Regions from separate parts of the Homo sapiens genome. Here regions 1 and 2 are each linked to region 3. The links are contacts of gene promoters, found by promoter capture Hi-C in blood cells and fetal thymus (Javierre and others, 2016). All regions are on one chromosome and are shown on one strand. The core of a region is centred on a gene start or on the middle of the fragment in contact, and the rest is flanking DNA. Distances in the headings are between cores, read along the strand shown.

What was found. Contacts are between HindIII fragments. The CHiCAGO score rates a contact against its expected background, and 5 or more counts as called.
Region 1: a fragment that was not itself captured here is called in contact with the fragment with the promoter of UBE3C in region 3 in 1 of 17 cell types (naive CD8 T cells); the score reaches 5.8 in naive CD8 T cells.
Region 2: a contact is called between a fragment that was not itself captured here and the fragment with the promoter of UBE3C in region 3, in 1 of 17 cell types (neutrophils). The highest score is 5.2, in neutrophils.

The regions. Positions count from the first base shown.
Region 1 is chr7:140,218,825-140,221,524 of GRCh38, forward strand. No RefSeq gene overlaps it. Among named protein-coding and RNA genes, the nearest start is that of KDM7A-DT, 43 kb to the left of the region's middle. The HindIII fragment of the contact is 254 bases long and covers 1,148-1,401 here.
Region 2 is chr7:139,329,658-139,332,357 of GRCh38, forward strand. It overlaps a transcript of UBN2 not described here. Among named protein-coding and RNA genes, the nearest start is that of TRR-CCT4-1, 9.7 kb to the right of the region's middle. The HindIII fragment of the contact is 3,297 bases long and covers 1-2,700 here.
Region 3 is chr7:157,137,676-157,140,375 of GRCh38, forward strand. It overlaps UBE3C (ubiquitin protein ligase E3C), which reads left to right and starts at 1,251. Exons shown (of 23, transcript NM_014671.3): 1 at 1,251-1,663. The coding sequence starts at 1,598. RefSeq lists silencers at 743-1,092, 1,373-1,762, 1,813-1,882. The HindIII fragment of the contact is 7,086 bases long and covers 1-2,700 here.

The sequences.
Region 1 (2,700 bases), core at 25-2,524, about 17 Mb before region 3:
CTAGCTGGCCACGGCCTCAGAAGCATGCGGGTGGTGTCTTGTTTCCTTTGCTTTCTCTTCTATAATTCTTTGGAATTTTCCAGAGACTTTAATAACAGACTCTCTCACCCAGTGGCATGGGGTAGGTGAGTGGTGTCCTCGGGTGTGAAGACAAGGGGGCATGTTTACATCTGAGGCTGATGTAAATTACAGAGCTTGGGCAGCCCACAGGTGATTCAGAAATAGGGATTAGACCAAGAATTTAGAGAGAAAATGGAAAGACATACATCCGGCCAGGCGCGGTGGCTCATGCCTGTAATCTCAGCACTTTGGGAAGCTGAGGTGGGCAGACTGCCTGAGCTCAGGAGTTTGAGACCAGCCTGGGAAACGTGGTGAAACCCCATCTCTACTAAAAATACAAAAATCAGGGCCGAGCGCGGTGGCTCACGCCTGTAATCCCGCGCTTTGGGAGGCCGAGGCTGGCAGATCATGAGGTCAAGAGAGCGACACCATCCTGGCCAACATGGTGAAACTCCATCTCTACTAAAAATACAAAAATTAGCTGGGCGTGGTGGCATGTGCCTGTAGTCCCAGCTACTCGGGAGGCTGAGGCAGGAGAATTGCTTGAACCCAGGAGGCGGAAGTTGCAGTGAGCTGAGATCACGCCACTGCCCTCCACCCTGATGACAGAGCGAGACATTGTCTCAAAAAAAAAAAAAAAAAAAAAAAAAGACATAGGCAGGAAGAGTCATCTGCCTAGAGGGAAAGGGTTTTCTTTTGTTTCAAAATGGAAAAGACTTCAAAGTATTTAATTGATGATGAGAAAACAAAACAAAACAAAACATTAAAGAGGAAAAGAGGAAAGATTTAAGAGAGACTATACCTTCCCAACCAAAGCCCAGATGCAGGATTTGGTTGGTTCTTAAACACTCTAGATTGAAAAGAACACCACAACACCACACCCCCATGAGACGGGATCAGCCCGCACACCTGCTCAGGGTGATACTCCAGAGTCCCAATGCCATCAATTTCATCTTGAGCGTCAGGAACCAATTGGCTGAATCATTAAGCCCAGGCCTCTCTACTGTACCCACCCCACCTGGGGGTGTAAGGCCCTCTGATGAACAGGTGACATTAAAGCAAATGAACGTTGACTCATAGCCTACTAAGCTTACATACTTGATAATATTTCATTTTCCCAGTAGTCCTGCGTAGGCATTACTATTCCCATTGTAAAGATGAGTACACTAAGGCTCAGAGAAATTACATACCAAGCAGGAAAAGGCAGAACAGGGAACCAAACCTGGATCGTATTTCAGCATTCATTTTCTTTTCATTCCAGACCTCAGGGAATATATTCTAAGGCCCCCAGAGACAAGAAAATTATGTTCCAGTACCTCCGGAATTAGAGAAAGATGACCAAGCTTTTCCCTGATACCTCCCTAGATTTTCACAATTACAGAAACATGGTCCTCTACCTCCGGAACCACAGAAACCTGAACCTACATAACCTGTCCAACTTGCTTCTCTCGAAACCCAGAAACTTTCTACAGTTGCTCCTGATGTTTCTCACCTGTCATGGAGCTTTAGAGCTACTGAGAGCTGGGGTAACGTAAAAAAGCAGAGAGAAGAGAGCTGGTCTGGTTGAAGGGGTGGGAAGGGGACATGGAAGCCCTTGCTTGGACTCTTATTTCAGCTCCAGTTATTCCCATTAAACTTGAGGTGCCTCCAAGAAACCCCAGGACTTATTTGAACACAGTTTAACAGCCACAGCTATTAATCACAGGCTTTTTTTTTTTTTAAGACGGAGTTTTACTCTTGTTGTCCAGGCTAGAGTGCAATGACACGATCTCGGCTCACTGCAACCTCTGCCTCCTGGATTCAAGCGATTCTCCTGCCTCAGCCTCCCGAGTAGCTGGGATTACAGGCATGCGCCACCACACCAGCTAATTTTGTATTTTTAGTAGAGATGGGGTTTCTCCATGTTGGTCAGGCTGGTCTCGAACTCCCGACCTCAGGTGATCTGCCCGCCTCAGCCTCCCAAAGTGCTGGGATTACAGGCATGAGCCACCAAGACTGGCCTTTTTTTTTTTTTTTTTTTTAATGAAAATTTTGAAGCTGAAGAAAGTAAAATGACCTGCCCAGGGTTACAAAGAGAGCCTAAGTGAACTGCAAACCCCAATAACCTGTTTATTTCACAGCTACTAAATCCAGCTTTCTCTGATAGACTGCTGGCTGCTTAACCTAACCCAATACCAATGCGCCTTCTCCCACTTAGTAACAAACCCCAAATTTATTCTGAGTAACACTGCTTGCTGCCAAAGGACTAAATTTCCCAGCCTCTCTTCAATTTGGACTGGCCATTTTAAATTCTAGCCAAAGAGATGTAAGCAAAAATATAGTATGGTTCTTCTAGGAAGAACATAGGCCTTTCTTCTCCTTTTCCTCTGTCCTGCTGCCTAGAAGTCAGATGTGATGGCTGGAGCTCCAGCAGTCAATTTGGACCATAAGGATGAGACACAGCCTAGGGAATGCAGTCAGAAAACTGGAAAGAGTCTGAATAATGGGGACGCTGACATAATAGACCTCAACTATGTACATGAGAAACAATTTTATATATCTTGCTTAAGTTGTGATTGTTGCAGCTGAATCTAAACTAACTGGTACAAATCAGGAATAGCTTCAACAATTTTCTCTAAGCCTTAATGACAATCCTCAAAT
Region 2 (2,700 bases), core at 128-2,627, about 18 Mb before region 3:
ACGTGGGTGATGGATGTAGGAGCTCCAGGATGCCTTGGAACGTCTTGTCCCAGTATGTTTCTGCTTGTACAGGTATTCAAAATGAGGGCCAAACCCTTCTTTGGAATCCAACTCTGCTCTAGGCTAGTTGGCTGCCCCCAGACCAGGATTTAGCACCAACAAACTGAGAATGTGATCAGAGGACTGGGGCCACTAACATAACTGGAAAAGAAAAGCAGAAAAGCATTCTCCCAACTCCTGTTCAATTAATTCAACAAATAGCTGTGGCCATGGCTGCAAAGGTACCAAGGTGCAATGACTAAGAACTCTAGCTTTGGGGTCAGATAGTCCTGCGTTCTCATGCTGGCTCCACAAGGCCCACAAGCTGTGCACTCTGGGCAAGGTACCATATGAGCCTGAAGTTCCCATCTCCCCCTAAGAAAATCCCCAGAAAAGAGTTTTCTTGTAGTGAAGCCCTTACAACACCTGTCATATTATAGGGTGCCCCCTCAATTACTTTACTTGGAAAAAGAACTATTTGCTTCAAATGTACATCACCTTAGATGACCTCAATTAATGCAAGTTTGGGGTATCTATAGAGGCCAAAAACCAAACAAAATCAGTTTTTTTAAGTGACAGAGAAATTTTTCAATTTTTAAGTGTATGAGAAATTCATAACATTTATCATAACTGTTTTAAGTGTTAAGTATGTTTTCATTGTTGTGAACTAGATCTCCAGATCTTGTAGAACTGAAACTGTGTACTCATTAAATAACTCCTTTTTGCCTCTTACTTCCAGCTCCTGGTAACCACCATTCAACTTTCTTTATCTATGACTCTGACAACTGTAGATACTTCATATAAGTGAAATCATGTAGTATTTGTCCTTCTGTGACTGGCTTATGTCACTTAGTGTAATGTCTTCAAGGTTAGTCCATGTTGTTTGTCATGTGACAGGATTTCCTTCCTCTGTAAGGCTGAATAATATTGCATGATATGAATAGACCACATTTTATTTATCCATTCATCCACTGATGGACACGTGGGTTGTTTCCACCTCTTGGCTCTTGTGAATAATGCCGCCATGAATGTGGGTGTACAAATATCTGTTTGAGTTTCTACTTTGAATTCTTTTGGATATATACCCAGAGGTGGGGCTGTTGAATCTTATGGTAGTTCTATTTTTAATTTTTTGAAGAACTGCCATACAGTTTTCCATAGTGGTTGCACCCTTTTACAATACCACTGTTGGGTTTTTTCTCACACCTCTTCAACACCAAATGAGGGTAGTTGTTTTTTTCCCTTCCTGACACCAACCTATTCTCCAACTCTCCAGACACCAACCGAGAATCCTACCATTCAATTCCATTTTGACAGTAACTACCCAGAGTTACTATAAGACTCACAGCTTTAAGCATTCAGTCCCACAAGACTGCCTTCACTTACACGACCTGGGCCAGTCTCCAGTATTGGGTCCCCAGGTTACCCACACTTCTGTCTGACATAACTATAAATTCAGGGGTTCCCACAATCCTCCCAGATTTGATAATTTGCTAGAATGACTCACAGGACCCAGGAAAGTGCATTACTTACTATCGTCAGGTTATTATAAAGGATACAACTTAGGAACAGCTGAATGGAAGAAATAAATAGAGCAAAGTATGGGAACGGGAAAAGTGGAGCTTCCATGCCCTCTCTGGGTATACCATCCTCCTAGCACCTCAATGCATTACCAACCCAGAAGCTCCCAAAACCCTGTTGTGGAGAAATTTTAGTGGCAGTTTCATACACCGTCATATGTAGCCCTGACTGATTCGATCATTGGCCATTGCAGATTGACTCAATCATAACCTCTCTCCTCTCCCAACAGAGGCATGGCTTTCAGGAAGAGAAAGTATTTCCCCTCTACTGAAACCAGGGCAGGCAATTAGGAGGGTTGTGGAGAGAGGATGAGAGGATTTTTTGTCAGTGAGCTACTGTGTTGAAAAGTGGATCTGGGCCGGGCACGGTGGCTCACGCCTGTAAACCCAGCACTTTGGGAGGCCGAGGCGGGAAGATCATGAGGTCAGGAGATCGAGACCATCCTGGCTAACACGGTGAAACCCCATCTCTACTAAAAATACAGAAATTGGCCGGGCACGGTGGCTCACGCCTGTAAACCCAGCACTTTGGGAGGCCGAGGCGGGAGGATCATGAGTTCAGGAGATCGAGACCATCCTGGCTAACACGGTGAAACCCCATCTCTACTAAAAATACAGAAATTGGCCGGGCACGGTGGCTCACGCCTGTAATCCCAGCACTTTTTGGGAGACCCAGGCGGGCAGATCACGAGGTCAGGAGATCGAGACCATCCTGGCTAACACGGTGAAACCCCGTCTCTACAAAAAATACAAAAAAATTAGCCGGGTGTGGTGGCGGGCACCTGTAGTCCCAGCTACTCGGGAGGCTGAGGCAGGAGAACGGCGTGAACCCGGGAGGCAGAGCTTGCAGTGAGCCGAGATCGCACCACTGCAGTCTAGCCTGGGCAACAGAGTGAGACTCCGTCTCAAAATAAATAAATAAATAAATAAATAAATAAATAAATAAATAAATAAATAAATAAAAAGTGGATCTGCCGGACACGGTGGCTCATGACTGTAAACCCAGCACTTTGGGAGGCCAAGGTGGGTGAATCACTTGAGGTTAGGAGTTTGAGACCTCACTGGCCAACATGGCGAAATA
Region 3 (2,700 bases), core at 1-2,500:
TGCCTTAGCCTCCAGAGTAGCTTGGACTACAGGCGTGCACCACCACACCGGCCTAAGTTTTGTATTTTATTAGAGATGGGGTTTCACCATGTTGGCCAGGCTGGTCTCGAACTTTTCACTTCAGGTGATCCGCCCGCCTTGGCCTCCCAGAGTGCTGGGATTACCGGCGTGAGCGACCGTGCTCGGCCGCAGGACGACTGTAGATGATATCGTATTGTGTGTTGAAATTTTGCTAAGAGAGTAGATTTTATGTACTCTTACCACACACACACAAAGAGGGTAGTCATTTCACAATGTCTCTATGAAATCATCATGTTGCACACCTTGTATACAACCAAAAATCAATTTTTAGAAATTGGTTTCAATCGTGTATGATATATATGTATATGCACATGTATATGAGATATTATGTATACGTATGTGTGGATATAAGACACATGTTTATGTATAGGTGGTCCCCAACTTAAAATGGCTCAACTTACAATTTTTTGACTTTGTGATGGGTTTATTGTAGCATTAAATACATTTTCAACTTACAATATTTTCATCTTACGATGGGTTTATCAGGACAAAGCCCCATGGTAAGTCCAGGAGCAAATATTTTTGCATACACAGGTATGTGTACATGATACATATTTATATGTATTGATGCTGTATCTATAGATGCATATGTGTGCTATGTATGAGGCAAATCTGCGCATGTCTGTGTACATGGTAAATATTTACGTCCGTCTGTGCGTGTCATAGACATAGAACAGGTGGGATGTAAACAGACGGGCTGGGCCTAGCTGCTCCTTTCCCGCCTCACTCGAGTCTGGCACCAGATTGGCCGCTCCCAGCCCGCTCCGGGTGCCGGCCCCTGCACCCCACCCTGCACCCCGCACCCTGCCCTGCACCCCATCCCGGCCCGTGCCTCGCACTCCACCTTTCCCGCACCCTGCCCCGCACCCAACACCTCCCGCGCCCCTCGCCGCGCTCCCCCAGCACGCACCAGGCCCCGCCCACTCCGCCGCGTGCCCAGCCCGCGTCACCGCCGTCCTCCCCAGGCTCCAGCGCGCCTTGCGGGGCCGCGCACGCTAGCGGAACCGCCGGGAAGAGCGCCGTGCCGTCAATGGCGGAGGCGCGCACGTCTGCAGGGCCGCGCACGTCTGCAGGGCCGCGCACGTCTGCAGGGCCGCGCACGTCTGCAGGGCCGCGCACGTCTGCAGGGCCGCGCACGTCTGCAGGGCCGCGCACGTCTGCAGGGCCGCGCACGCACTGACGGCTGACCGCCATCTTCCCTCCCGAGGCGGCAGTTCCAGGTGCAAGCGCCGGGTTTGCTGCCCGCTGGGCGCCCCTGCAGCGGCCCGAGCTGTGGCCGGCGTGGATGAGGGGCAGGCGAGGCAGGGCCGCCCCTCCAGTATTGCCGCCCCTCCCGCCCCAGGGCAGGGCTGGGAGGGTACAGCCCGGGGGCGGGCTCGGGTCGCCTCCCGGCCGCCGCGTCCTCGCTGCCCCGGGCCGGGCGGGCGGGCGCCGAGAGCCTCCCAGCCCGCCCCGTGCCCCGCCCGCCCGGCTGCTTCCGCGGCGGCGCTGCCCGCACATGGGCTAGGCTGCCAGGATGTTCAGCTTCGAAGGCGACTTCAAGACGCGGCCCAAGGTGTCCCTTGGCGGCGCGAGCAGGAAGGTGAGGGCCGGGCTGGCGGGGCGCCCTCGGCTCGGGGCCTGCGCGGCCGGGGCTCGGGGCTGGGACTCGGGGCTGGACTCGGGGCTGGACTCGGGGCCGAGACTTGGGGCTGGATTCGGGGCCTCCCTGGCGGGGACTCGGGGCTTCCTCGCCGGATCTCGGGGCCGCTCCGGCCGGGACTCGGGGTTGGACTCGGAGCCGAGACTTGGGGCCAGGACTCTGGCTGGGGCTTAGGACTGGACTCGGGGCCTCCCTGGCTGGAACTCGAGGCCGCGCCCGTGGGGGCCTTGCCTGTCCACTGCGCTTCGGGACCCGGGCGCGCTGGCCGTGGCTCCCTTCCATGCAGGAGGCCGGTGAACCCTGGCACGCTTTGTGCCACCCAAGGTGAACTTACCCTTTCTGGGTGTTTCCTTTCAGAAATGCGCTTTCCATGCTCGCTCCCGCATGGCATCAGGGAGTGGCTGCTTTTCGAATGCCACCTGAAGGGCGTTTTCGGTTGTAGAAGGTGAACGGCACGCATTTGCTGATGTCGATAATCTCTAAAGTAGAGGCAGAACGTCTCATGAATAGCCACGTGTTTGAATCCAAGACGAGGGCAATTATTTGCCACCAGCCTCCTGGAAACTGTGGAGAGACTCCGGACTTACATCTGTTGTGATCGACATTAAGTTGTTCGCATGGTAATTGTTTAGGATAAGGGTAGGCAAACCATGACGCCTCTGTTCTAGTCTAGAATTTCTAGCTGTCTGTCCCTGAAGACGGGCATCAGTTGGTTCACTGGAACCGCTAAGTCGTTGAACACTGTGTGGTCTTGTTCCCGCCCCTCCCTTCCCACCCCTTCCCATCATTTCTGAAATGTTCTTTAAAATGCTTCACCTAGTTTTTCTTGTCTATCAGTATATTCTGTATATCACAACCACCAGGTAGGCACATAACGCAGAGTGGGTGCTGGCAGGCCAAGGAGGAACTGCTGTTATTAAGATTGTGCTGTGGGGCTGTGTTTGGTGGTTTCTGAGGTTAGAAGGGAACCTGGGTAA